6 separate regions of the Homo sapiens genome follow, and all the other regions are linked to region 1. The links are contacts of gene promoters, found by promoter capture Hi-C in human tissues and cell types (Jung and others, 2019). All regions are on one chromosome and are shown on one strand. Each heading gives the region's core, a stretch centred on a gene start or on the middle of the fragment in contact. The rest is flanking DNA. Distances are from core to core; before and after follow the strand shown.

Region 1 (4,925 bases), core at 1,088-3,587:
ACTTTTTCACATTTGGTTCTCTTGCCTAGGTGGACCTGTTCCCACTTTGGCTTGAAGAAATCTCATTTATTTAGTGTCTGTCCTATGAAAGTCACTGTAGTAAAATATATTTTCCAAGATGGTGGCAATAAGATGCCCCATTCCAAATGTTCTTTTCACAATGTGACACTGATGCTCCTCCCATCAAGGTTTGTTCTATGTCCCCTCCCTTAAAACCAGGTGGACCTGTGACTCTGGTAGAAGAGTTCCTATGTGCTTCTAAGGTAAGGTCGTAAAAGGCATTAAGGCTTCTGCCTGGTCCTCGTGGGTTGTTCCTCTTCTAACCATAATTGTTATGGATTGAATTGTCCACCCCCCACCAATTCATATGCTGAAACCCTAATTCCCAATGTGACTATATTTGGACGTAGGGCCTTTAAGGAAGTAGTTAAGGTTAAATAAGGTCATACGGGTGAGCCCTATTCCAAAAGGACCTAGTGTCCACATAAGAAGAATAAGAGGCACCAGGAGTGTACATGCGCAGACTAACTGAAAAGCCAGCTGGCTGCAAGCTAGGAAGAGAGGCCACATCGGAAGCCAATCCTGCCAACACCTTGATCTTGGACTATCAGCCTCCAGATCCACGAGAAAACAGATTTGTTGTTTAATCCACCTAATTTGTGGTATTCTGTTCTAGCAGCCCAAATGACTGATACAATAATATGTTTCCAACAAGTGAGACAGGGGCCTTGCTTCACCCATCTCTGTATCTTAAGAACCTAGCACAGACCTGACACTAACCATGTAGTTGGTGAATATCTGCTGAATGAACGCGCATAAAGCAAGGAAGGACAATTTAATCCCAGCACTTTGGGAGGCCAAGATGGGAGGCTGGCTTGAGCTCAGGAGTTCGAGACCAGCCTGGGCAATATAGCAAGACCTCGACTCTACTAAAAAAAATAAAATAAATAAAAAATTGGCTGGGCGTGGTGGTGCTTGCCTGTCGTCCCAGCTACTCCAGAGGCTGAGGCAGAAGGATCTCTTGAGCTCGGGAGTTCGAGGCTGCAGTGAGCAGTGATTGCACCACTGCACTCCAGCCTAGGCGACAGAGAGAGAGACCCTGTGTCCAAAAAAAAAAAAAAAAAAAAACCCCAAAATTATAGCTAATATCGAATGCTTTTTAAAGCAGGCACTATGCTAGAGAGATTACATGAATGATGTCATTTAATCTTCAGGCCAAGTTTGCTCTACTTTACCCCTCCCGGCCCCAACACTCCACAGAAAGTAGTGAGCTACATGGTAGAGGGCCTGCTTTTATGTGGTGGTTATACATAACTCTGAGATTACGGCAAGAAAGTCAAATCGAACTGAGACAGGGACTAAAGTTAGTGTTTACAGTATCAATACTATAAAGAAAATAATTACATTCCCAAGGAAAAGTACAAAGAAAGGAGGTAGTGTCATTTGGAAGAACCTTAAATATGCAGTGTCACTGAAGTCAGGGGAAGAAAAGAATTTCACGGAGAAGGGCGTGTTCAATGCGTGGAAGGCTGCAGAGTAGATAATGAAGATTCAAAAAGGCAAATCTGAGAGGAGTTGCAGTACAGTCGTGTGGTTTCTAGACTACACGGCGTTTCGAAAGTGGGTAAAGGCAGACATCACGCGTCTTCAAGAAGTTCAGAAGAAAGAGGAAGAGTGTTGTCATAGTGGGTAAGGTCAAGTATCTTTGATTGCAAAACAACAGTCGCCAGAAGAGAAGGGGCTAAAAGTTGGAACGAGGAAGAAGGCTCGGAGAAAGGTGTCAGACAAAGCGGGATTAGCAAGAAGCTGTTAGGGCTGGTCCTACCGGGATGAGAGAAAGGCGCAGAGGCCAGCCGAGTGGAAAGAGCAGCGGTGACGAACCGGGTTCCACTCAGACGTCCGACACTTCTCGCCAAGGGGCCAGCGCGGACAGCAGCGCCTCCCGGGGACCTCTGAGAAGCCCTGTTTCTGCGCGGCTCCGCCCGACCTCCAAGGCCGACCTCGGAGGCTCAGAGACCCAGGCCCCGTTGGCACTCACCCCACTGCCACGCGGCGCCAGCGCCGGACTGGCCGCACGATAAGCGCGTCCCAGGCTGCCGCCAACCGGCCCTCGGGGGAGACGGGTCCCGGGGGCGCAGGCGCGGGCCCCAGACACAGCGAGCTCCAGAGAGAGCGCAGCGCCGAGCCTGGCAGCTCTGGCTCCAGCAGGAAGACGCAGCCCACGGCCAGCGCCAGGAAGCCCGCGTACGCGGAGCCGCGCCACAGCGCCATGGGGACCCAGGCGCCGCACCTGCGCGAACCAACTCCTTTCCTAGCCCGCGCCTCTTCCGGGCTCGGCGCGCGCCGATGTCGACACAAGCGCTACGTCACAAGGGTGCGCCACGGGGCCCCCCAAGGGGCGGGGCGACGGGCGGCGCCAGGACGGAGCGAGGGGGGACCCCACGCCTCAGTCCCAGGCCTGGCACTGCGGTGTTGCCGCCCCGGAGGAGGTGGGACAACGGCGGTTGTGCCAGTCCGGGCGCTGCACCCCCTTCCCGGAACTCTAATCGTATCCCCAAATAGAGGGATGGGAACACATTTGCTTTCGCAGTAAAACGAAACGGACAGATTGTGAAGAAGCGGACAAACCTCGCGTTAATATTCGAACCAGTGGGTGTCCCCATTGGCACGGATCACACCCCCATCTTTTAATCCCTCCCTCCGCCCGTGTCCCCTCATTTGCTAGACTTGTCCTCTTCCAGGCCTAGTGCTCGGCGCTTCTGAGAGGAATAGGCTCACAGAATAGCGGCGCTGCCGAGACCCCTGGGGTACGCGAGGCAGGGGGATTCCGCCCCTTTGGAAGGTGGCCGAGACCCTCAGCCACTAAAGGACTTCGTCGAGACAGGAGAGCCCGCAGAGATCGTTCTCTTCTGGATAACCAGATTATTCCACAATCAAACTTTAACCCTTTTGGGGGCGCTGTTCCCTTTAACAAACTCTGGAAAATGTACACAATCTTGTGCACAACACGAGAGTTATGGACCTGGGTTGAGAAACGCTGCTTTCTTTTGTTCCCCCTTGGTGACATCACTTAAACCCAGCCCTCTCTTCGCTGATACTTTTCTGTGCATGAGGCTAGGTTGAGAGACAGTGAAGCTAGGCTGGGTACCAGCTCATTCTCATCAGCCACAATGCCCGGCCTAGTCTTGTTCCCTGGTTTGTTTCCACTTTTCCAATTCTCTCGGCTCCTGACCTTGGCTTTGTGTCCAGTTTTCCACTGTGACCCTGACCTTTGGACTTGGCAGCGAAACTTTATTTCCCTAACTTTGATCTTGGGCATTAGTCTTCATTCTCCTCAGCCCCACCTCATCAGAACTTCCCCATCCTGGTCATCTACCTTCCCGCAGTTCATCCTACCCAGCCTACCTGACCATGCCATCCCTTTCGACAAAGATATTCACACAGGAACAGATTTGGGCTACCTTGGAAAAGAAGCCAAAGAGCCAGTCAGATCTTTATGAAGCCATGAAAGCCATCTTCCCTAGAGTTGCCTGTCACTTCTCTCTCCTTAGGGAGACATGTCAGTCAGTTCCTAGAGAAACTGCTTCTTCTCACAACCCTCAGCTGTCAGGTTTCCCTGGCACCCAGAGGGGACTGAGCCAGCAGCTGACCTGAAAACAGCGAGTCTGCTGACTGTCCAGCGATCATTTCCCTCTATTGAGAATTTTAACCAAGTTTCTGTTGTCTGTAGTTATTTGATATTGGCTGTGGACCCACAAAGTCACACAAGGCTAAAGGTCAGAACCAGTTAAATATGTTTCCAAGGTGAAGTTTTGGGGAGCACAGGAAGCTGAACTGTGGGAAGGTGATAGAACAGACAGATCTAGAGGACTAGGAGAGTGCTCCACATTAAAGTGATGTGGACAGAAACCTGCCTGGGGCTTTCTTGCTCCCACGAGAGGCTGCTAAACTTCCAGCACTTTGCACCTAATTCTTCTGCTTCTTTCTAGATTTGCCAGAATTGTTGATTTAGTCACAGAGACAAAACAACAGCAGTTGAACAAAGTGGATGTTTATTTCTCATGTAAAAGTCTAAATGGGGTGTTGGCATGTTGTGGGCTGTGGTAGCAAGCTTGGCCCCCTCTGGTTGCTATGGGACCTGCTGTGGGCCTCTTGCTGGTTAGTCACTCAGTGTGGGTTTGCATTGTGGGTGGTGAAGGGGGCCAGACAAGGAAACGAGAGAGCTGACCTCAATTCCAACTGAGAACTGAAGAGTCAGGAGCCGCAGGAGGTGAAGAACAGAACACCAGGGACAGTTGCCAGGCCTGGCGGAGCCTGATGTGGCTTCTGGTCACATACAGAGTCACAGGGCCCTTAATTCCTTCTCATCGGGGCTCAGGGGCAGGCATTCACTGTCTTGGTGCCACAGTCCCTCTTGAAATATTTCCTTAACGAAAATCAGAAAAGATTCTGATCATCTATCTGTTCAGAGAGTCTGGAATCCTTTGCAAGCCAATTGTTTTTCTAGAAGTTAGGTTTCTGGGGACAATTAAAACAGCTCTGAGTGGGCAGCTGTGGCTCCTTTGCCTAGGCTGAACAAAGAGGAAAGGGCTGGGCTGGGCAGGCCTCAAGACACCCCCCGCCCCCACCCAAATTGCTTCCAGACATGGCCTTTCCTATTGGTTCTCTCTCCTAGGACCTTGAAATGAGAGAAGAAAAGCAATTTGGTTCTAGAAAATTCAGAGGCAAATGGAGGCTCCAGGTGCCCCACCCAAGATCCTGACCTGGAAGGCCAGGGAGCAGATCCTGTATGAACACAAAGAATTAGCAGAATCCTGTCAGCTTCCAAATTAGCTGAAGGTTTTGGCTTTAACATAAATACCCATCAGCGTCACCCCCGCAATCTGAAAGGCCTTAAGGGGCACATTTGTTCCCACGTGGAGCAG
Region 2 (4,925 bases), core at 1,248-3,747, 450 kb before region 1:
AAAAAAAAAAAAAGGTATGAAAGTATAGTTTTAGTGTATGTTCTGTTCTGTTGCTTTCCCTTTCCTCTTCAGGAAATCCTGTCATACATATGTTAGATCTTCTGCCTATCTTGTTTTTTGTTTTGTTTTTTGATCACTTTCTCCCAAATCCTTTTTTATCTCTTTCTTCTTTAAAAATATATTTTTTTAAAATCCTCCATGGCTGGTGCGGTGGCTCACACCTGCAATCCCAACATTTTGGGAGGCCAAAGAGGGCAGATCACCTCCATTTAATCTTCTATTTGTCTGAAGATATTATCCATTGTCATTTTTGCTAGTGAAACTTCTAGAATAGACTTCATTTCTGAAATAACTTTTCATTTATTCTAATTCCCTCCTGAGTTCTGTAACCTCACTTTTAAACATCTTATTTTTTCCAATCATCACATTTTTGAATTTTTCTCACTCTTATATTGATTTTTCATAGTCCCTTTTCTTTTCTTAATGGTTTTCTTTTGTTTTAAGGGTAAATCTTTCTGTCATGCTTTCACTGTCAACAGGGACATTATGGTATTATTCCCTATCCTCCTCTTTTATGTATGGACTTCAATTGAGTAGTTTTAATTGCTTTTTTTTTTGAGATGGAATTTCGCTCTTGTTACCCAGGCTGGAGTGCAGTGGCATGATCTCGGCTCATTGCAACCTCCACCTCCTAGGTTCAAGCGATTCTCCTGCCTCAGCCTCCCAAGTAGCTGGGATTACAGGCGCACGCCACTACACCTGGCTAACTTTATATTTTTAGTGGCGAAGGGATTTTGCCATGTTGGCCAAGCTGGTCTTGAACTCCTGACCTCAGGTGACCTACCTGCCTCAGCCTCCCGAAGCGCTGGGATTACAGGGGTGAGCCACCGCACCTGGCCTAATTGTTCATTTTTAAGGGCAATGAGTTTTTCTGTTTAGAAAGAGCAATAGGAAGAATAGCCTTTTTCTTTTTTTGTGTGATGGAGTCTCGCTCTGTCACCCAGGCTGGAGTGCAGTGGCACGATCTCGGCTCACTGTAACCTCCATCTCCCAGGTTCCAGAGATTCTCCTGCCTCAGCCTGCCGAGTAGCTGGGATTACAGGCGCCCGCCACCACACTTGGCTAATTTTTCTTTTTTTAACCATGTTGGCCAGGCTGGTCTCGAACTCCTGACCTTAAGTGATCTGCCCACTTTGGCCTCCCAACGTGTTGGGATTACAGGCATGAGCCACCACGCCCGGCCAAGAATAGCTTTTCTAGCTTCAAAGCTTTAGAGTTTTCTTTACCTTAAAATAGGTGATACAAATGTGATCTTTGACTCCCGAGACAGGCATCCTCTACTACGCCACCTACTTCTATCTGGACCTTCTCTCTCTCTCTCTCTCTCTCTCTTTTTTTTTTTTTTTGTCCTTATTGTCTCTGCTAAGTTCTATTTGGATTCTACTGCCAGCAGTTTCTCCTCTATTTGGGCTTTGTCTTGGAAGGAAGTGTTGATTTGTTAGTCTCAAGATCTCATAAAGTTCAGACCACTCCAATATCTCCAGAACTTTAAAAATTAGAACAGAAATCAATGAAATTGAAAACAGAAAATAAAGAGAAAAAAATCAACAAAATCAAAAGATGATTCTTTGAAAAGATAATAAAATTAACAAACCTCTAGCCAGGCTAACCAAGAAAAAAACAAGACACAAATTATTAATGTCAAAAATTAGAGATGGGGCTCACTCCTGTAACCCCAGCACTTTGGGAGGCTGAGGCGGGCAATTGCTTGAGTCCAGGAGTTCAAGACCAGCCTAGGCAACATGGGGAAACCCTGTCTCTACAAAATATAAAAATTGGCTGGGCTTGGTGGCGCATGCCTGTAGTGCCAGCTACTTGGGAGGCTTCGGTGGGAAGATCATCTGAGTTTGGGTCGGTCAAGGCTGCAGTGAGCCGTGATTGTGCCACTACACTCCAGCCTGGACAGAATGAGCCCCAGTCTCAAAACAAAACAACAACAACAACAACAACAACAAACAGAGATAGGCCATCACTACTGATTCCATGAGCATCAACAAGATAATAACGCAGGCTGGGTGTAGTGGCTCATGCCTGTAATCTCACCACTTTGGGAGGACGAAGCAGCCAGATCACTTTAGGTCAGGCGTTCGAGACCAGCCTGGCCAACACGGAGAAACCCCATCTCTACTAAAAATACAAAAATTAGGCTGGGCGCGGTGGCTCACGCCTGTAATCCCAGCACTTTGGGAGGCTGAGGCGGGCGGATCATGAGGTCAGGAGATCGAGACCATCCTGGCTAACGCGGTGAAACCCCGTCTCTACTAAAAATACAAAAAAAATTAGCCAGGCTTGGTGGCGGGCACCTTTAGTCCCAGCTACTCGGGAGGCTGAGGCAGGAGAATGGCGTGAACCTGGGAGGCGGAGCTTGCAGTGAGCCGAGGTAGTGCCACCGGACTCCAGCCTGGGTGACAGAGCGAGACTCCATCTCAAAACAAAACAAAACAAAACAAAAAAAATTAGTGGGGCGTGGCGACAGGTGCCTGTAATCCCAGCTACTCGGGAGGCTGAGGCAGGAGGAGAATCACTTGAACCTGGGAGGCAGAGGTTCAGTGAACCGAGATCGTGCCACTGTACTCCAGCCTGGGCAACAGAGGTAGTGACTCCATTTCAAAAAAAAAAAAAAAAAAAAGGATAATAAAGGAATATTATGAAGAATTCTATGCCCACAAATTTGTCACACAGGCTAAAGTGCAGTGGTGCAATCACAGCTCACTGCAGCCTCCACCTCCTGGGCTCAAGTGATCCTCTTGCCTCAGTTTCCTGAGAAGCTAGGATTTACAAGCATGTACCACCACACCTGGGTAAGTTTTTTTTATTTTTTGTAGAGACGGGGTCTTGCTATGTAGGCTAGGGTGACTAATTTGTATTATTTCTTTTCTCTCCTTATTTGAAATTTAATTTTCTATGTCTAGTTTCCAGAAGTGGAAGCCGATTATTGATTTTATATCTTTCTCCCTTTGGAATATATACATTCAATGCTACAGGTTTCTCTTGCAGCATTGCTTTTACTACATCCCACAAATTTTGATAAGTTGTATTTTTCGTTTTCATTTAGTTTAAAATATTTTCAAAATTTCTCGAGTCTTTTTTTCTTTTTTGAGGTGGGGTCTCACTCTGTCACCCAGCCTGGAGTACAGTGGCATGATCATAGCTGTATTAGTCAGGGTTCTCTAGAAGGCCAGGACTAATAGGACAGATGTACATATGAAAGGGAGTTTATTAAGGAGTATCGACTCAAACAATCACAAGGTGAAGTCCTACAATAGGCCATCTGCAAGCTAAGGAGCAAGAAGCCAGTCTGAGTCCCAAAACTTCAAAAGAGGGAAGCTGACAGTGCAGTCTTCAGTCTGTGGCCAAAGGCCAGAGTCCCTGGCAAATCACTTAAGTCCAAGAGTCCAATAGCTGAAAAACTTGGAGTCCGATGTTTGAAGGCAGGAAGCATCCAGCACAGGAGAAAGATGAAGACCAGAAGACTCAGCCAGTCTGTCCTTCCACGTTCTTCTGCCTGCTTTATTCCAGCTGCACTGGCAGCTGATTAGATTGTGACCACTGGATTGAGGATGGGTCTGACTTGTTAATCTCCTTTGGCAACATCCTCACAGACATACATATGGAGGAACAATACTTTGCATCCTTCAATCCAATCAAATTGACACTTGATATTAACCATCACAATAGCTCACTGCAGCCTTGACTGCCTGGGACTCAAGTGATCCTCCCACCTCAGCCTCCCGAGTAGCTGGGACCACAAGTGTGTGCCACGCCCAGCTAATTTATTATTATTGTTTATTTTATTTTTTTTAGAAATGGGGTATCACTATGTTTCCTAGGCTGGTTTTGAGTGTTTTTCTTTGGCCTATGTATTATTCAGAAGTGTATTGGTTAATAAGCTACTCCGGAGACTGAGGCAGGAGAATCGCTTAAACCTGGGAGGTGGAGGTTGCAGTGAGCTGAGATCGCACCACTGCACTCCAGCCTGGGCGACAGAGTGAGACTCTATCTCCAAAAAAAAAATAATAATAATAAAAGAAAAGAAGTATATTGGTTAATCTTTAAATATTTGACTATTTTCTAGCTATATTTCTGTTATTGAATTCTGTTTAATTTTTTTGTGATTTGGGGGCATACAATGTATGATTTCAAGCTCTTTAAATATGTTAAGGAGTGTTTTATGCCCAAAAATGTGGTCTATCGTGGTGAATATTCCGTGTGAACTTGAAATGAATATATAGACCAAGTTGACTCATGTTGCTGTTCACTTCAACTATGTCACTACCAATCTTCCTCCTGGATCTGTTAACTCCTAATACAGGGCTGTCAAAAACTCCAACTATAATAGCAGATTGTTTATTTCTTTTTGCAGTTCTATCAGTTTTTTTTCTCTCTTATGTATTTTGATACTAGGGCATACCCATAAAGGATTATGTCTTCTTGAAGAACTGATCTCTTTATCATTGTGTAATGGCCCTCTCTTTATCCTTTTTTTCTTTTTTTTTTTTTGTTTGTTTTTGAGACAGGGTCTTGCTCTGTCACCAAGGCTGAAGTGCAGTGTTGTTGCAATCATGGCTCACTGCAGCCTCAAACTCCCAGGCTCAAATGATCCTCTAGCCTCACCCTTCTGAGTAGCTGGGACTACAGGCACATACCACCACGCCTGGCTAACTTTTGTATTTTTTGTAGAGATGGCATTTCACCATGTTGCCCAGGCTGGTCTCAAGTGATCCTCCTGCCTCGGCCTCCCAAAGTACAGGGGTTACAGGCATGAACCATCACACCTGGCCCTCTTTATCCTTCATAATTTTCCTTGCTCTGAAGCTGACTCCATCTGAAACTAATACAGCTTTATTTTTTCTTTCATAGAGATG
Region 3 (4,925 bases), core at 1,147-3,646, 440 kb after region 1:
CTGGCCAGGAGGGTTCTCCCCAGCTTCAAATTGTTACAAAGTTCAGCTGGAGATTTCCTTCTCCCTGTGGTGTTTTTCCCCACACTCCTCCGGTTGCCCTCCCAAAGGATCCCTGTGGTGCCAGTTAGGAATGGCCTGCCTGGGGACCTAGTGAGCTCCCGGGGCCTTTCTCGCTGCTTCCTCTACCCCTGTATTTTGCTTGGCTCGCTAAATTGACTCAGCTCCAGGTAAGGTCGGAAACTTCTCCCTCAAACAACCTTCAGTTTCTCCAGTGGGGATGTGTGTTCAGGAGAGGAGAATCTCCCTTTCCCACTTCCACAGTTGGGGCACTTGGGGCACTCACAGTATTTGGGGTGTCTCCCAGGTCCTGCATGAGCAATCCACTGCCTTCAGAATCCACTTCCTGTGGGTCCTCTCGGGATTTCTGGTTTGTTCTTGCAGTCAATCTGGAGCTTAAATTCACAGTGCGAGCCTCCGCACACTGCTCTGTCCGTCCAAGTCGGAGCTGCAGTCTAGTCCTGCCTCTCCCGTCTGCCATGGTGATCCAAAGAATGCCTGCATGGGCTCTTTTAAAGCGGCTCTCTGCTAGACAGTATCTCAGGAAGCATTTAATTCAGGGATGGATCCCCAGACTGGATTACTGTTTGGGGAAATAGGGATTTCATGATCAAATAAGAATGAGAAATGCTAGGTTAACAAACAGAAGAGGTGCTAGGAGTCATTAACATACTAATATGCATGGCAAATCTCTACAATCTCCCAAATTTGATTGTTGTTCTCTTTTTTATTTTACGGTATATGTGTTAACATTTCCCAAAAGTAATATTCTGTGGAAGTATACTTTTGTTCACACTGTTACTATGTTTGGAGTAATAAGCACCATGTAAATCTGACTCCGTTCTGAATAATGAATTCTGAATAATGTTAGAGTGAACATTCCTGGGAAATAACAATTTAGTAGATTCCTAATGAAGGGCCAGAGAGAAAGAATATTTCCCATGATACTTTCCTACCTTTCAAATGAGCTTAGAAATTTTTAAAGAAATTTCAAAACTATTTTCAAAGAAAGGTTATGAAAAAGGAACAAAATTTGGATTCCAAAAAGAAAATGTAAATGTACCTACTCACAGCTGTAGTTGGTGTGAGTGGGCGTCAAATTAGGATAACTGGGGATCTGCTTAACCAAGGGTGCAACATGCCTAGTGCAGAATTTAATGATCTCCACCTTCAGAAACTTTCAAATACATGTATTGGTTAAACTAATAATTATAGACTGTTACTAAGTGACACTTTATCAGTCACAAATCTAATGTATTGAAACTGGAACCGTCAACCACAGCATAGCTAGATTTTGAAAGTTAATTCTCAGAAATATTAGGAGCAGCTCTGATGACTTACTCAATATAAAGCCGGGTCAGGCCGGGCGCAGTGGCTCATACCTGTAATCCCAGCACTTTGGGAGGCCAAGACAGGCACATCACTTGAGGTCAGGAGTTCGAGACCAGCCTGACCAACATGGTGAAACCCCGTCTCTGCTAAAAATACAAAAATTAGCCGGGTATGGTGGCGCATGCCTATAATCCCAGCTACCCGGGAGGCTGACGCAGGAGAATTGCTTGAACCCAGGAGGCAGAGGCTGCAGTGAGCCGAGATCACACCACTGCACTCCAGCCTGGGCAACAGACTCCATCTCAAAAACAAACAAACAAAAAAGCCAGATCAGGAGAAACGTCATCATTCTTTAGGAACTTCCACGGAACAATTCAATTTCTGCTACTTACAACCCTGTGCAGGCCCTTAGGTTTCAGCGACTGGGCCAGTGTGAAGCTGCTGCCAAGCATTTGAGCAGCAGGTCAGAGCGGACAGCAATGCTCACATTTGAAAATGTAATACCTTTTCTCAAATAGATTTCCCAGTGGCCTTTGGCTTGATTCAGATTTACATGGTGTTTACATACTGTTCTAAACATAGTAGCAGTATGAACAAAGGTATAAAAGCTGTAAAGTTCCTTCTTGTTAAGTAACCAAGCAAATCAAGAGCACATCCTGTTTAGGAAATAAGCCTAGAAAGCGAGGATGGGACCAGTCTGGAGGACTTTGAACACTGTCCTGAGATGTTTAGACTTATTCTGGAGGCTGTTTGGTACAGTTACAATGGGTGAACTTTATGGTATGTAAATCATACTTCAGTAAAGCTGTTGAAAGAAAGACTGGATAGTTGAAACTATTAAACATCCTTTTTTTTCCTAGTGTAAAACAGCAATAGTTACACAGTCCTAGGACATTTCTTTTGCTCAAAACACCTGAGCTTAAAATCTGTCTGAAGTCTTCATAAAATTAAAGTGTCCAGAAATTATCAAAGACTTTTATAAATGCCAACCAGTCATCAAGGGCCCAAAGCAAACATGAAAAATACAGATCTGTAGGCCACATGTAGTAAAAACCTTTGTTTCTTAGAGTCAGGCTGGTTGCTTTCCCTTCTGCCACCAGAGTAGTTATCTCATTGCGCTCTTAATTTACATTTCCCTAATGACTAATGATGTCATTTTCATGTGCTTATTCTATGTTTTCTTTGATGAAATGACTATTCAAAGCTATTGCCTTTTTTTTTTTAACTTTGGTTGTTTTCTTAATGAGTTGTAAGAGTTCATTATGTATTTTGGGTATAAGTTTTTTTTTTTTTTATCAGATACATGATTTGGAAATATTGTCTGCCAGTCTGTTGCTTTTCATTTACTTAGTTTTGGGTTGTTTTTTGTTGTTGTTGTTGTTTTTGTTTTGTTTTTTTCTGGGTTTTTTTTAGTGCAGAAGTATTTGTTTTTAATAGAATCCAATTTATCAGGGCATACTTTCTTTTATGTCTTGTGCGTTTGATGTAACGTATAAAAATTCTTTGCTAACTCAAGACATGAAGTCTTCTAGAAGTTTAGTTCTTAGATTAAGACTATGAGATATTTTGTTAATTTTTATATATGATGTGAGTTCATTACTTTGCATGTGGATATATTGTTGTCCCAGCACCAGTTGTTGAAAAGACTGTTCTTCCCACATTGAAATTTCTTGACACCTTGGCCAAAAATCAATTGACCACAAATATAAGGGTTTATTTCTGGACACTGAATTATCTCATTGATCGATGTGCCTATTCATATGTCTTGATTACTGTAGCTTTACAGTAAATTTTGAAATTAGTAAATTTTGAAGTACAGTAAATTTTGAAATCCTCCAACTTTTTTTGTTCTTTTTGATAATTGATTTGGCTATTCTAGGTCTTTTGCATTTCTTCTAGCATTTTGCATTTCTTCTAGCATGTTAATAGTTGCCTTATTAACAACTTTGAGTTGTTCAATTCATGAACATGGACTATCTATTTATTTAGATCTTCTTTAATTTCTCTCTGCAATGTGTTGTAATTTTTTCTTTGTACCAGTCTTACACTTCTTTTAGGTTTATTCCTGAGTATCTTAAAATTTATCCCTAGATATTTTTGTTAAATTTATTTCTAAGTATTTTAATTCTTTTTGATGCTATTGTGAGTGGAATTTGTGAATGGAATTGATTTCTTAATTTCATTTTTGGATTGTTCCTAAAATATAGAACTACAGTTGGTTTTCATATCCTCCGACCTTGCTAGCCTTATTTATTAGTTTTAGTTGTTTTTTTTTTTTTCAGTAGATTCATGAGGGTTTTCTGCATAGATAATTATGTCATTCACACATGAAAATAGTGTTATTTCTTCCTTTCCCATCAGTATTTCCTTTTTCTCTTTTTCTTGCCATTTTGCACTTGCTAGGACTTTTAGTACTAAGGAATGAGAAACTAATATCCTTGTCTTGTTTCTAATCTTAGGGAAAAAGCATTTAATCTTTCACCATTACATACAGTGCTCACTGTAGGCTTTTCAGGTTGAGGAATTTTACTTCTTTTCCTAGTTTGTTGAGAGTTTTTATCATGAATGGGTGTTTCATTTTGTCAAATGCTTTTTCTGTGTCTAGTGAGATAACTAGTGGTTTTTCTTTTTTCTCTTAATGTGATGTGTTTAATTGATTTTGGAACATTAAACTGTCTTGAATTCCTATGATAAATTCTACTTGGTCATGGCATATAATTTTTTAATGTGTTACCAAATGTGGCTTGCTAACATTTTGGTAAGGAGTTTTATACTATGATCATAAGGGATACTGGTCTGTTGCTTTCTTTTCATGTGTCGTGTTTCTTTCTTTTCTTTGTCGGGCTTTGATAACAGAGTAATACTGAACGCACAGGAATGAGTTGGGACATGTTTCTCCTTCTCTATTTCCTGAAAAAGTTTGTGAAGGATTAGTATTATTTCTCTTTTCAAATATTTGATAACATCCAGCAGTAAAGCCATTTGGACTTAGAATTTTCTTTGTATAGGAAGATTTTTACTTACTAATTCAGTTTCTCTATTATAGGTCGTTCAGACTTCATGTTTTTTCTTGATAGATTTGGCAGTTTATGTTCTTCTAAGAATTTTTCCCCTTCCTCTAATATGTCTGATTGGTTGGCAATTTTTTTTCCCAAAATATTCCATTAAAGCTTTTTTAGTTATCTGTAGGGTTGGTAGTATTGTACTATTGTCCCTTCTTGTATTCTTGATTTGAGTAACTTGTGTCTTCTCTTAGTTTCCTAGTCTTCTACCTGAGATAGAAGCTTAGGTAATTCATTTGAGACCTCTCTTCTTTCTGATGTAGGTAAAGCACTACATTTCCCTTAAAGCACCACTCTAGCTGCATCCTGTAATTTTTAATACATTGTGTTTTTATTTTTATAGTGTTAAAAAATTGTGTTTTTGAGGCAGAGTCTCACAATCACCCAGGCTGGACTGCAGTGGTACAATTATGACCCACTGCAGCCTCAACCTCCTGCATTCAAGTGATCCTCCTGCCTCAGCTTCTCAAGTAG
Region 4 (4,925 bases), core at 987-3,486, 390 kb after region 1:
GAGCAAAAAGAAGAGCATCCTCCAAACTGAAAATTAAGCCCATCACTCTGCTTTGCTGTGCAACAAAGCACCAGCTGACAAAAGTCCATATCCACTACTGCAAAGAAGGACAGATTTGGAGCTGAGAGCCTTGAAATAATAACTCTCATTATACCAAAAGCTCTTATATATAGATAAGAAAATTATAAACACTCTAATTGGAAAAACGGCAGCATATTTATATACATAATTCACAAAAGAATAAATACAAAAGGCTTGTCATTGTTTGAAAGGATCAAGTCAAATTTGCTATTAATAGATTTCCCTGATTTCATCTTGTTGTACAGATTTATGTTTTCTGGATCTTCCATCACTGTGAATGTATGTTGTTTCCTAAGATTATACATGATTTCCCTCCTTGGGGGAGGTTCTGCTTGACTGGGGTTCTATCTCCTTTTTGTACTGTTGTTCTTCATTTACCTAAGTTATGTAGCTAGTTTAGATTTCTCTTCAGGGCCTGCTCTAGACAGTGCAATAGGCCAAAAAAGTTCTTTTTTAAAAAAGGAAAGGGAGATTGGAAAGGCATAAATAAATCTGTCTCTACTCACATACAAGCATGATTGTCTATGTAGATAATCCCCAAACTGTATTTACAGAGGCTGATACAGCTAATGAGATAATTTAGGATGGCCACAGGATAAAAGGTTAATACACATAAATCAATTTCATTCCTACATACTAGCAGAGAACAACTGGAAATTTTAAAAAATTTAAAGTACCACTTAGAATAGCATCAAAAGTATTTGAAATACCTAGGTATTTATCTAACAGAGCATGAATGAGATTTGCTTACTGAAATCTGTAAAACATTTATGAAAGAAATCAGACTTAAATAGAGAGATAAACCTGTGTTCAGGGAAAAGAAGACAATATTTTTAAGACGTCAAGTTGCCACAAATTCAACACAATCCCAATCAAAATCCCAGCAGGCTGGGCAGATGTTAGGTCAACTGTAAATAAAGCTGCTGTCGTTGCCATTGTTGTTGTTATTTCATAGAACTAGCCTGCAGTGGAGCTTGCTGCTTTGTGATGTAGGGAGTTCCTGTCATTCACACTTTTCAAATACAGATCGCTAAGACCCTTTGTCAAGGATGTCATATAGGAAATTATATCATTAGGTAGGATGCTGGACTAGATCTACTTCAACCCTTCTAATTAAAAATATTATGATCTATTATTTGTAAGTTAGCAATTTACAGCTGTGGGGCATGTGGAAAGGGAGCTACTGGAATATTCAGACTTTTTCAAATGTACTTATCCTTTCCCCGTCACCCTGTAAAACCATTGCATATAATGAGGGATCTTAGTAATAGGAGTGTGTTGCATGAGTGAGCTGTTTAAGGACTCTAATGTGACGTTTATTTTACTTTGTTGTTGTTGTTCTTACTTATCAAGCTGACTGAAAAGGAAAGTTTTATCAATCTTTTCCACTCTTTGAATTCTAATTATAGCTCTTAAAAAATGGTATAAATCTTAGGGAAGTATTCTTTAATATTTATTTTTAGACATTTTTAATTTCTCCAATATAGTCAACTTAGTAAATAGTTCCAAATAAGGAAACTCAGAAATTATCTTTAAAACAGTTAGTTGTACCAGCAAATCATTTTTTAAAGATAATTGTATTCCTAACATGTATTTTTTATTATATATTTATTTTATGCTTTTGCAAAAATATGTGAAAGCTTCAAATAATGAGTAAAAATCCTGTGGATTTTATGATTTAAAAATTGGTTGAAATATGAATAGCTGCCTAGTTCTATTTTCATTAATGTCTTAATTTCCTTTTTATTTTAAAGCTCAACCTGAATTCCTGAAGCAGCCTACTAATATATATGCTCACGAATCTATGGATATTGTATTTGAATGTGAAGTGACTGGAAAACCAACTCCAACTGTGAAGTGGGTCAAAAATGGGGATATGGTTATCCCAAGTGATTATTTTAAGATTGTAGTAAGTATTTTTCAAAGAAGTGTGTTTATTTCTGTAACCTTTAGATATTTTTAAATGTAGTCACCGAGAGATCAGTTATCTTATATATACTAGTTTGTGTACTGCAAATGAAATAGAAGAATTCACATAGAATGTAATACCTTCATTGGCTGATGAGAAAGCTGAGCCCAGAAATACTTTGGTAGCTTATGTAAGATCACATAGCAAGTCAGTGGCTTACCTAAGCCTAGAGTCTAGACTCTTACTTGAACACACTGGCACTCTGAAACACAGCTGCCACCATTTTCTGGCAGATGATTAGCACACATGTGTGTGCGTGTATGTGTGTCCCCAGTTGTCTTCACAGCTCTCTGTTCAAGAAGCAGAAATCTTTCCACACTTCTCCTTGAAGTGTGGAAAGATGATCCTTTTGAAAAACATAATATGTAAGAATGCAACTGACTATACAAAACTTAACCTTAAATCGTATACCGATGCCCAGACCCTTCAAAATAAGGATGACCCAGTGTCGGACAATTGTGGTAGCAATAGTTATAAAGATTCTTTTTTAAAAATGCATTTAAAAAGTGTCAAGTGTATTTAAGAATACTCAGCCATAATTGCTTTTTACTATACTTTATATATAGTAAATGATTCTTAGATATTACCTACTATTATCATCAATATCTAACATTTTAGTAATAGAATTATCCAGCTTTAGTAATAAAGATTAATGACATACCTTGAGATCTATACATGACATTCATAAAAATGATCAGAACTATAGTTGTTAAAGACATAATGTCTCATTACAAATTTGTCATACAAGTAAACATTCTTAGAAATATATTTTCTATTTTTGAAATGCATGATCTCCTGTTGCAAAAAGTAATTTACAAGTATTTAACATTAAAAAGCAATCTGTTATAGTTAAAATAGCCTCTTAAAATCAATATTTGGAAACTAGAAAATTTTTAAATCATATTTATTATACCAATAACAGTAGTTAAAAATTTTTTTTGTTTTTTAAGACAGGGTCTCGCTGTGTCACCCTGGCTGGAGTGCAGTGGTTTGATCATAGCTCACCACAGCCTCAAACTCCTGGGCTTAAGCGATCCTCCTGCCAACCTGAGTAGCTGGAACTACAGGCACGCACTACCATGACCAGCCAATTTTGTATTTTTTGTAGAGATGGGGTTTCACTGTGTTGCTCAGTCTGGTCTTCAGCGCCTGGGCTCAAGTGATACTCCTGCCTCGGCCTCCCAAAGTGCTGGGGTTACAGGTGTGAGCCACTGCTCCTGGCCCAGTAGTAATAGTTGACATTCATATAGTACTTTTTCATTTAAGGAAAGCTCACATGGCTTCATTTAATTTATTGTAGTCTAATCTGTTAGAACTATTGATATTATAGATAGTCTTAGGAAAAATAATACCTTAAATTCACAAATTGGACTTTAACTGTGGTCAGTTGGTATTGCGTGCCAGATCTTTTTCCAGGCAAAGGTGTAGTTTGCAAACAGTGAGAGTATGACTTTCCATGCGTTAAGTTCTTCATCGTGAATGACAGTATGTACTCTTCTATTCAGTTAAATTGGTACCTTGCCAATGCTTTAGTATGAAATTGAGTTAACAAGTACTTGGATAATATTTAATAATTGGATCATAAAAACTTTACTTGTTTTTTTCCTCTCCAAAAAGCATATTTTTGAGATTTTGATCTGGTATTTATCAATTAAATTATGTAATTTTATTTATGCTTTTCTTCTTCAGAAGGAACATAATCTTCAAGTTTTGGGTCTGGTGAAATCAGATGAAGGGTTCTATCAGTGCATTGCTGAAAATGATGTTGGAAATGCACAAGCTGGAGCCCAACTGATAATCCTTGAACATGGTAAGAAGGGCTGAAATAGTCAGATGATAGAGGCTGTGTGCTTGATGAACAAGCACCCATCCGTCCAAATAACTCATGATTGATAACCCATTAGTAAAGGCCAATATGTGGCATAGCTAAGAGAAAAAGAATAGCAGTCTAAATCATTTCTATTACATAAAATTACCTAGAAGCACAATTTTGGATAATGTTGAAAAGAAATTTTTACTAAGAAAAGGAAAACTGAATATTATAGTCTTAATAAATTAATTTTTAAAAGAATTTAGTCATCTTAATCTCACAAATATATTTCTGTCCTATAAAGAAAAACTTCTTTTTTTTCCAATTCTATACACTTTTATTAATACACTTACAAAAAATAACATTCAAACACTGAGAAAACTAAATAACTTTGGAAGCAGAGCTCATTGTTTTCTGCTTACATATAAGTGACAATTCTGGGCTGTTGGCACAAAATAGTCAACATTCATAAAACCCTGACTACTATATATCAAACATAAGTTAAAATCATAGGCAGTAGTTTATCAAATCCACGTTTCTTAGAAAAACTTAGTATTTATTTTGCATTGAAATTTTTAGTTTTTCCAGAATACAATTAATTTACCTTTTCTGATTACCACCAAAAAACCAAGTTTATTATTTAAAAATTCAGATAACAATGAAAAGTATAAAGAAAAAAATCCATCCTGTATCTCAAATTAGGGAACCCACACTGTAATTTGAGCAGAGTTTTAACATAAGGAATTAACATTGATATTGGGATTGGAGTAACAAAGGTTTGACTAGTAAGAAGTAAAGAGAACTCTAGACAATATAAGAATGGCAACTATCAGGAGCAACTACAACCCCTAGGTCTGAGATAGAGCCCTCAGGAAGAGGCCCCTCTTTTTACGGATGAGATCCAGACCCTGTTGGAGAGGGTGTAACCATGGTTTACTGGATGGCAGAGAAGTTGATGTGGTGTTTTGCTCTCTAAACTTGCTCAAAATCTCCTTTCTTGAGGGTTGGGGAAAGCTGCTTACAGAGAGGTATCTCACTGGAGGCATTCTGCTACAAAACCACCCA
Region 5 (4,925 bases), core at 1,130-3,629, 370 kb after region 1:
ATAGGTTTTCTAAACTTTCTGATTTTTCTTTCCCCTCAGGAATACCCGTAATTCACAAGTCCAGTCACTTTATGTAGTCACAAACATCTTGAAGTCTTTGTTCTTTTTTATTCTTTTTAAGTTTTTGTCTGACTGGATTATTTCAAAAGACCTGCCTTAAAGTTCTGAGATTCTTTCTTCTGTTCAGGCTTGTCTATTGTTGAAGCTTTCAAATGTATTTTGTAATTCCTTCAATGAATTGTTCAGTTCTAGAATTTGTTTGAAGATATCTATCTCGATAAATTTCTCATTGGTATCCTAAATAGATGTTCTGACTTCTTGGTACTGGTTTTCAGATTTCTCTTGCAATCTCATTGAGCTTCTTTAAAATCAGTATTTTTAATTCTTTATCTAGAAGTTCAAGGATTTATTTTTGGTTAGGACCTATTGCGGGAGAATTATTGTGTTCCTTTGAATGTGTCATAATATGTTGCTTTTTCATACTTCCTATATCTTTACATTGGTTTCTGTGCATCTGGAGTAACAGTCACTACTTCTTATTTTTGAATTTGCTTTCATTGAGTGGGGAGACTTTTTATTGAAGATATGTCTATAATGTTGATTGGATAGGGCGTTTTGGCTTTCCTTCTGGGTATGCGCAGTGGCTTTAAGGATTCTGTGTGATTTCCTTGGCTACAGATAGCCTTAGTGTTAAATCTGTGGATTTTTCTGTGTGTTAGTGTGCAGTTATTGGTGGAGTCTGTGATGAGGTTTTGCTGGAGACTGGAATGCCTCATGGGTCCTTCAGTGGTAGTGGTGGTGGGCTAAGTATGTCTATCATTGTGACCTGGTATGTGGTATATGCTGGCACCCATGTTGGTAGTTCCAGGTAGGCTGATTCTTTGGCCACTGGGTGGCTCTCTCAAATGCCTGTTGTAGTAGAGGTAGACCATGCAGGTGAGCAGACTCTTGACCTACTGGGAAGCCAGGGTGGTATGGGCAATGGGAATAGCAGTAGTAGTGAGAAGCTCTTCTCATTCACAAGTGTTGTGCCCTTGTTTTATCAGTTGTTGCAATGGGCTGTGCATGTCAGCCTCCAGGCCAGTAGGTGGCACTTGCAGGTAATAGCCAGCTATATTGTCAACAGTAGGTTTTATGCCTAACCTCTGTTTCTGAGGACAAGTGCTTGCACAGGTGTCCCAGATGGTGGATTGAGTTGCAGAATTCTCAGGAACCTGGATCCCCCTAACCTCCACTTCCCTCTGCGGAGTAGGGGCCAAGCTGAGTGGAGCTGGAGCAGGCAAGCTTGTACTCAGGCCTCCCAATGGTGGGTGCATCTACCTTCCTTGACGGGGGTGGCAGGGCAGTTCTCAGGCCCCTGGTGAAATTCTTGGGTGAGGGATGACTGTTGCTATGCCGAAGTCTTAACATGGGTATGGAGGGGCAGTCCCAGCAGCCACAGATGTGGCTTGTGTAAGTAGGACTTACTTCCTTCTCATGCCCCAGTCCTGGCAGAGTTCCCTCCCACTCCTAACTGTGGCAGCAGATCAGCCTGTTCAGTCATGGCAGTGTTCTGCAACTCAGTCCAGGGCCTTAGGAGATACAACCCAGCTTAATCCCAAGCCTCCATGGCAGCTCTCCTCCTGCTCAGGTCCCAAGCAGGTAGGGGGATACCCCAGTTTCAGTATCAGCTGCCCATACCAGTTTCTCAGTTCTGGTTGCAGGAGTCCAGACTCTTGCTTGAGTCCCAGTTCTTCAAGCCCCAGCCCGAATTTCTGACACCAAAGCCTGGCACTGCCACTTGTTCCCAGGACCATCCACAGCTTGTTAAGAGCTGGGATTGAGAATGGCCTCTTACTGTAGCTGCCTATATCTGATGGAATGTATGGGACGTCCCTGGAGCAGTTCCTTGTCCAGTCACTCCCCAGGTGAGATCCAGGATTCAGGAGGGTCAAGGTGCTCTCCTACAGCCTGGATTGTACAATTCCCCTGTGGAAACATGGACTGCAGAAATACACTCACTCACCCTCTCCCCTACTGGGGATACATTCCTGATTTTCAGCCAGTCCTGGCCACACGGGTTACCTGTTTTCCTTCTTCTCAGATGTTGAAGTTTCCTTTTGCTTTTCTCTTGAACTCCCATGCTCCCTCTTGGATAATATATTTAAAGTGTGATTGTCTACACACAATTTTTGTTCTTCTAAGTGGATGAGATATGCTGGAAATGCTTCTACTCAGCCATCTTGGAGAGAAACTTGAAATTTCTGAAGTTCTGTAGATCTTATCCTAACTCTGTTTTATTGAAAACTTTAACAATTCCTACATCAATACTAATACTGTTTCCCTTGTTGATATTTTGTTGGAAGGATCCCTTCTCATTGTTCTTTTAAAAAAAAAATTGTTTTTGACCAAATGTGGTGGCTCACATCTGTAATCCCAGCATTCTGGGAGGCTGAGACAAGAGGATCGCTTGAGGTCAGGAGTTTGAGACCAGCCTGGCCAATATAGTGAAACCCCATCTCTACTAAAAATACAGAAATTAGCTGGCTTGGTAGTGCATGCCTGTAGTTCCAGCTACTCCTGAGGCTGAGACAGGAGAATTGCTTGAACTCGGGAGGCAGAGGTTGCAGTGAGCCGAGATCGTCCTGCTGCACTCCAGCCTGGGAGAAAGAGTGAGACTCTTTTTTTTTTTTTTTTTTTTTTTTTACAATTTTTTCTTCTAGATGGCCTGCAGATTCAGCTTGTTAAATTTGATAAAATTTCTCCTGGGATATTAAATGGCATTTCATTGACTTTACAGATTCATTTCAAAAGAATTGTGATTGATATATTTACAGAATTAAGTCTTTGTAGCCAGGTGTGTGTGTATATTATTATTACCATTTTTTTGAGACAGGATCTCACTCTGTTGCCCAGACTGGAGTGCAGTGTGTGGTCATCGCTCACTGCAGCCTTGACTTCCTGGGCTCAAGCAATCCTCCTGCTTCAGCCTCCTGTGTAACTGGGACCACTACGACACCCAGCTAATTTTTGTATTTTTTTGTAGAGATGGCGATCTCACTTTGTTACCCAGGCTGGTCTTGAAATCCTGGCCTCAAGCATTCCTTCTGCCTTGGCCTTCCAAAATTCTGGGATTACAGTCATGAGCCATCACACCTGTCCTCACTTTTATTTTTAATTAAATATTTTTAATAGATAACATATGAAGATGTTCTAGAAAGGATATATAGTGAAATATTACTGCTATGTCCCAGCCCTCCTCCACAGAAGCAACCATTATTTTTTTCTTATCCTTCTAGAGATATTCTATGCCTGTTCAAGCAAAGAAGTGTGTAAAAATAGCATAATAGGTGTAACAAGCAATCTTAGAGATTGTCATCATCAGGAGCAGATCCAGCTTTTTTGAGGTCTGCAGTGAAAACTACTTTGGAGGCCTTGTTTAAGACAGTGAGTAGCGAGGTGTGGTAATACACACCTGTAATCCTAGCTATTCAGGAAGCTGAGGCAGAAGGGTTGCTTGAGCCCCGGAGTTTGAGTTCTGCCTGGGCAACTATAGCAAGATTCTGTCTCAAAAATTTTTTTAAAAAGACAGTGAATACCAAACTATGTACAAAATGAGTAGTTATTTAGAACGAGAAAAGAAAGCACAATAAACTAGTTTTTCAAAGCTGATAAACACTACAAACGTTACCAAAACCCAGAAAAAACAGCACTTTAAAAATATTACCTTATACACGTATGTGTTGTAATATTTGTTTTTGCTGCATTTTGTTTCATTGTCTCCTCATATGTCAGTGATTTTGTAAGTCATTTTCTATGAAAATAGAAAGCTAATTTGGTCTTTTCCTCCAGTGTTTAAGATATAGTCATTTGAATATGACTCCACACCTTTGTGTCTCGGTGTTGGGTCCTGTTAGTACAGTGGGCAGAAGGAGTATTCCTGGAAGTCTTCCTATACTGAGACAGTTTAGGTATACACAAAAGTTTTGGCGAAAACCACATAAATATATCCCACTAAACCCACTAATGGTATATGTAGCTCAATTTCCTCTTGACTTCTCTTAAGTACAAAAATGACTTCAGCCACTCCATCATGACCTGGCATAAGGGCAAGTCAACATGGAAGCAGCAGCAGTCTTGATGGACTGTGGTTAAAATAGCTTACTATTTGGTGGTTCCTAATCTTTTGCTGCTTCAGTGTTCAGGGAATATCCTTATGTCTTTATGCAAATGTGTGAGTGTTTCTGATAGATGAATCTCTTGAGGTGAAATTGCTGTATCAAAGAGTTTATACAATTTAGATTTTTATAGATATTACTAAATCACCCTATAAAAGATTGTATCAATTTATATCATCACCAATATATATAAGACTGCCCGTTTCTCATACTCTTGTTATTTGCATATTACTTACATGAGTGAGGTTCAACATCTTTTCTCATATATTAGGAAATTCTGTGTATTTTCATTTTGTGCACTGTCTATATCTTTTACTCAGTTTTTATTTGTAATTTTTTTCTTATTAATTTGTTGGAACTTGTATATATTAGGGAAATTAGTTCTGTTATCTGTTTTCCCCCTGTTCATTGTCTTTTTACTTCATGATAGTTTTTAATTATGTATACTTTTAATTTTTCTATGTAGTCCTCTTGAATATACAAAAACCCCAAAACACCAAACTGTTGTTTTTCCTATTCTCTACTTTCTGCTCAACGCAGAAAACCTCTGTGATCCCAGAATGTGGGGGTTATTTCCCCACACACCAAGCAGTACTTCAGTGGACACCTGCTGTATGTCCTATAATTCAGTTCAGTTCTGACACTACCTACCTTTCTATTTTTCTAATAGAAACAGTACTACTTACTAAATACCGAGTTTATTTCATATGTATATTCTTGCCTCCTCACCATTTCCATGTAGAGATATGGCACTGGAGAGAGTGTCAT
Region 6 (4,925 bases), core at 888-3,387, 350 kb after region 1:
ATATAACTTGGTTTGATGATTTGGTGTTTATTTTCCTCTCTTCATACTTCTGATAATCACTGCAAGGGTAGTTGTTCTTCCTTTTTCTCCTACTCTTCCCTTTTCCCCTTATAGGTTCTTTGATTCAGACGTCAGAAAATAAAGATGGCATGACTACATAGTCTTGTTTTTATCCCCATTTCCTGTGCCATTCCTCCATATGGAAATGTACCCTCAAGTGCTGGCTAGAGGTGACTAAAGTGACCAAAGGTCACTTTTCTACCTCTTCTTCCCACCCCCTCAAAACTCCCAGATTGGTAGCTTTCAACCTAGGAAGACTGCTCCCAGTGCTGTTTCTCCCTAAGAGTTAGGAGTGCTGTTTCACTCCTAAGAATGAAACTCTGACCGGGACTGTTGCCTGAGGAATGCCCCACAAATTGGAGTAAATCATAGTGGTTCTGAGGTTCCTGGGGTTCTTTGCTCGGGGCCTCAGCCTCCTCTTTTCTTAAGTTCACCATTTAGATACAATTAAGACCTGGCCTTTAGTGCTTTCACAAACATATATATTACCAGAGTGGTTGGTACCCTTGATGCACGTTAGTTTATAGCCAAGCTGAACACCTGAATAATACAATTACTCTCAGATTGGCAACCAAGTGAATAATGTATGCTATCTCATAGATAATTACTGGAAAAGACTGACCAAGAATTAAAAATAACCATAAATATATTTAAGGAGATAAGAAAAATATTTGCAATATGATGCAAAAACAAGAAAATATAAACACAGAACCAAATAGAAATATTAAGAATGAAAAATATACTAAAAATAAAGAATAAAGCAATCTGCATGATAGAGAAAGGTATCCCATTTTTAAATTTTGTTTTATTTTGATTTTTTTTGAGACAGGGTCTCCCTCTGTTGCCCAGCCTGGAGTGCAGTGGTGCAGTCTCTGCTCACTGCAGCCTCTCCCTCTGTCACCTAGGCTGGAGTGCAGTGGCACAATCTCTGCTCCCTGCAGCCTCGACCTCCTGGGTTCAAGCGATCATCCTGCCTCAGCCCCACAAGTAGCTGAGACTACAGGCATGTGCCACCAGGCCCAGTTAATTTTTGTATTTTTGGTAGAGATGGGGTTTCACCATGTTGCCCAGGCTGGTCTCGAACTCCTGGGCTCAAGTGATCCACCCGCCTCGGCCTCCCAAAGTGCTGGGATTATAGGCATGAGCCACTGTGCCTAGCCAGAGAAAGGTATAACATTGATGAGCAAACTCATGAATTGGAAGATTACATTGAGGAATTCTCTGAGAATGCAGCATTATATGATAAAGAAAGATAACACATGGAGTAAAATCTAAGAGATACGATAGGTATAGGTAGAAGGACTATCTAGATAAATAGGTGTCTTAGAGGAGAGAAAGGAAGAGGGAAATATTTGAAGAAATAATTAAGATAAATTTTTCAGAATTAGACTTGTAGAACACCTTAGACTAAAAGGACTAGTAGACTGTTAAATAGGTGAAAGAAGGAAAAACCCACCTTGAGGCCCATTTACAGTAACATACAATAATGTATAATTATATATACAGTAACGTATAATATCAAAGACAAAAAAATTCTAAAAGCTTCCAGTGACAAAGAGCAGATCACCTACAAAAGAAAAAGATTGGATTGTACCTAAGTGTTGATTTGAGAAATCTGGTATCGGGAGGACAATAGCGTAATCTTTTTAAGGTGTTAAAAGATGTTGAATACACACAATTTATATGCATCCAAAATGTGAGACATAATAAAAATTATCACACAAGATCTCTGAAGGTTTGCTGCACAAAGATACGTTGAAAACACTTTTGGAATAAATACTCAATAAAAGATATACCTGGGAAATACTGCAAGAGCCTTTTAAAACAAAGGGGGAGTTGGCCGGGCGCGGTGGCTCGCGCCTGTAATCCCAGCACTTTGGGAGGCCGAGGCGGGCGGATCACGAGGTCAGGAGATCGAGATCATCCCGGCTAAAACGGTGAAACCCCGTCTCTACTAAAAATACAAAAAAATTAGCCGGCGTAGTGGCGGCCGCCTGTAGTCCCAGCTACTTGGGAGGCTAAGGCAGGAGAATGGCGTGAACCTGGGAAGCCGAGCTTGCAGTGAGCCGAGATCCCGCCACTGCACTCCAGCCTGGGCGACAGAGCGAGACTCCGTCTCAAAAAAAAAAAAAAAACAAAAAAACAAAAAAACAAAGGGGGAGTTTTAAAACAGCTCCCAGATTCTTTGACTATCCTTCTATAGAGTGGTGGGGTTTATGTCCGTTGCTCTTGAATCTAGGCAGGCTTGGAGCTATTTGGATCAATAGAGTATGGCAGAAGTCATATGTGACTTCCGAGGCTTATAAAAAGCTGTGCATTGGTTGTCATACTTGGAGAGAATTTTTTTAAAAGGAAAAAAAGAAAAAGCAGTGCGGATTTTTCCTGGCTCTCTCGATGCTAAGAATATACAATGGGGAAAGCATAGTCTCTTCAGTAGATGGTCCTGGAAAAACTGGATAGCCACATGTGGGAGAATGAAATCAGATCCTTATCTCATATATGTAAATCACATATACACCATACACAAAAATCAACCCAAAATGGATTAAACACTTAAACATAAGACCTGAACTGTAAAACTACTAAAAGAAAAGAGGGGAAAAGCTTATTGACGTTGGTCTTTGCAAAGACCAACGTTTTTTTGGATATGACCCCAGAAAACACAGGCAACGAAAGCAAAAATAGATAAATTGGATTGCATTGAACTGAGACGCTCCTGCCAGTAATGGAAACAATCAACAGTGAAGAGACAACCTATGGAATGGGAGAAAATATTTGCAAACCAATGAAAACAGAAGAAGAAAATGATAACAAGAGCAAAAATTAATGAAATAAAAAAACAAACATTCAAAACAGAGAATGTCAGCAAAGCCAAAAGTTGGTTCTTTGTAATGCATAACAATATTGATAAATCCCTGGGAAGACATACATTACTTGACAGAGATCTTTATCTAGACCCGGGGTTGGCAGAGTACAGCTTGTGGGCTAAATCTTCCTGACTGCTTGTTTTTGTACAGCTTGTAAGCTAAAAATAGTTTATATATTTTTAAATAGTTGAAAAATATCAGAAGAATAATATTTTGTGATACATGAAAACTTTATGAGATTTCAAAATTTATTGTTCATGCAGTCTTACTGGCATACTGCCACACTCATTCATTTATGTATTGCCTATGGCTGCTTTCATGCCACTACACAGGAGTTGAGTAGTTGTGACAGAGACCATATGGCTCACAAAGCCTAAAATATTTACTGTCTGGCTCTTTACAGAAAAAGTTTGCCAATCCCTGATGTAGGTTTTACAAAGAACTCCTACAGATCAGTAAGATAAACAAAGACAGAAACCAATAGAAAATGGGCAAAAGACTTGAACATCGACCTGGAAGAAGATGTCTAGCTAGCTATTAATATTTGAAAAAGTGGTTGTCGTTATTAGTCTTCAGAGAAATGCAAATAAAAACCATAGTGGGATATCACTGTATTCCACTATAATGGCTAAAGTTGAAAAGCTCAACAAATACCAGACATTGGTTAGGATGAAAACCACTGGGGACTCTAATGTACTGTTGACAGGAGTATACACTGACACAATCACTTTAAAATTCTGCTTGGCAGAATCTATTAAAAACTGTACACTGGCTAGGCGCAGTGACTCATGCCTGTAATCCCAGCACTTTGAGAGGCTGAGGCAGGAGGATCACTTGAGGCCAGGATTTGAAGACCAGCCTGGGCAGCATAGTGAGACCCTATATCTACAAAAAATGAAAAAATTAGCTAGGCATAGTGGCACACACCTGTATTTCCAGCTACTCAGGAGACTGAAGCAGGAGGATTGCTTGAGCTAAGGAATTTGAGGTTACAGTGAACTACGATTGTGCCGCTGCATTCCAGTCTGGGTGACAAAGCAAAACCATCTCTAAAAAATAAAAACTTAAAAAAACTGTACACAGAAATACCCTATGATATAGTAGTTGTATTCCTAGGAGTATACTTACCAGAAATGTATAATTATATGCCCCCAAAACCATGCACAATAATGTTCTTACTGGGAATAATTCAAATCTCCATCAAAATACAAATGTAGAGTAGTCTTCCAGTCATACAATGGCAAATTATCAGCAATGAATATTGACAGATCACTGCTACATTCGACAATGTGGGTAAATATCACAAACACCCTTGAAGAAGCCAGACACAAAAGAATACCTACTATATATATGTAATTACATTGTTATATATAATTCCATTTGTGTAAACTTCAAAAACAGACAAAACTAATCTATGGTTTTAGAAGTCAGAATACTGATTACTTTTGGAGAAGGGCAGAATCGTTACCGAATGTTGCACAGCCCGGCTTCTGGTGTGTTTATGTTCAGTTTCTTAATCTGGGTGGTAGTTACAATTCAAGCTGTATTGTTCATGTGTGCCACATGAGATCATCTCTTTTTTTACTGTTTACAGATTATAACTCATAATGTGCAAAAACATATTTGGAAAATTTTGTTTTGAGCCCTGTCCCATAATTGAAAGCATTTATTTTTCAGATAGGGAAAGCAGATTTTGAGAAATAGTTGGAGAGATATATATAAATACAGTCATACCTGTCTGACTTCTGTTATTTTTTTAAGAAGTTATAGCTATAGGAAATGCCATAGTGAGTGTTAATGTAGAAAAGGTTGTAAGTTCATTTTTCATCTGTTAAATGTTTCAGATTTATTGTCTTATCATTAACTCCTGGAGTTTCTACACATGCAGTGACGTGAATTAGCCCATCATGTATTTCCTGTCATCTCAGATTGTTGATAACACTTAAAATGGGTCATGAGGGTTTTTTAAAACAGAAACTTTTCCTTTTTCTCTTCAAA

The links. Contacts are between HindIII fragments. The study calls those that stand out against the background at their distance.
Region 2: a contact is called between a fragment that was not itself captured here and the fragment with the promoter of ADPGK in region 1, in 1 of the 25 tissues and cell types used here (mesenchymal stem cells).
Region 3: a contact is called between a fragment that was not itself captured here and the fragment with the promoter of ADPGK in region 1, in 3 of the 25 tissues and cell types used here (dorsolateral prefrontal cortex, hippocampus and mesenchymal stem cells).
Region 4: a contact is called between a fragment that was not itself captured here and the fragment with the promoter of ADPGK in region 1, in 1 of the 25 tissues and cell types used here (dorsolateral prefrontal cortex).
Region 5: a contact is called between a fragment that was not itself captured here and the fragment with the promoter of ADPGK in region 1, in 2 of the 25 tissues and cell types used here (dorsolateral prefrontal cortex and mesendoderm cells).
Region 6: a contact is called between a fragment that was not itself captured here and the fragment with the promoter of ADPGK in region 1, in 3 of the 25 tissues and cell types used here (IMR-90 fibroblasts, aorta and dorsolateral prefrontal cortex).

Annotation. Positions count from the first base shown.
Region 1 is chr15:72,781,421-72,786,345 of GRCh38, forward strand. ADPGK (ADP dependent glucokinase) reads right to left here and starts at 2,338. Exons shown (of 7, transcript NM_001365225.1): 1 at 2,039-2,338. The coding sequence starts at 2,271. ADPGK-AS1 (ADPGK antisense RNA 1) reads left to right here and starts at 1,415. Exons shown (of 3, transcript NR_040107.1): 1 at 1,415-3,776. RefSeq lists enhancers at 1,714-1,783, 2,544-2,603, 2,654-2,863 and a silencer at 2,034-2,493. The HindIII fragment of the contact is 4,696 bases long and covers 1,279-4,925 here.
Region 2 is chr15:72,327,792-72,332,716 of GRCh38, forward strand. No RefSeq gene overlaps it. Among named protein-coding and RNA genes, the nearest start is that of CELF6, 10 kb to the left of the region's middle. The HindIII fragment of the contact is 4,054 bases long and covers 471-4,524 here.
Region 3 is chr15:73,225,797-73,230,721 of GRCh38, forward strand. All of the region lies in intron 7 of NEO1 (neogenin 1), which reads left to right. Among named protein-coding and RNA genes, the nearest start is that of MIR12135, 72 kb to the right of the region's middle. RefSeq lists an enhancer at 1-622. The HindIII fragment of the contact is 4,439 bases long and covers 178-4,616 here.
Region 4 is chr15:73,174,568-73,179,492 of GRCh38, forward strand. It overlaps NEO1 (neogenin 1), which reads left to right. Exons shown (of 29, transcript NM_002499.4): 6 at 1,836-1,990; 7 at 3,740-3,860. Among named protein-coding and RNA genes, the nearest start is that of MIR12135, 120 kb to the right of the region's middle. The HindIII fragment of the contact is 4,235 bases long and covers 120-4,354 here.
Region 5 is chr15:73,155,549-73,160,473 of GRCh38, forward strand. The region is part of intron 5 of NEO1 (neogenin 1); the gene reads left to right. Among named protein-coding and RNA genes, the nearest start is that of NEO1, 110 kb to the left of the region's middle. The HindIII fragment of the contact is 6,272 bases long and covers 1-4,925 here.
Region 6 is chr15:73,136,577-73,141,501 of GRCh38, forward strand. All of the region lies in intron 5 of NEO1 (neogenin 1), which reads left to right. Among named protein-coding and RNA genes, the nearest start is that of NEO1, 87 kb to the left of the region's middle. The HindIII fragment of the contact is 5,639 bases long and covers 1-4,925 here.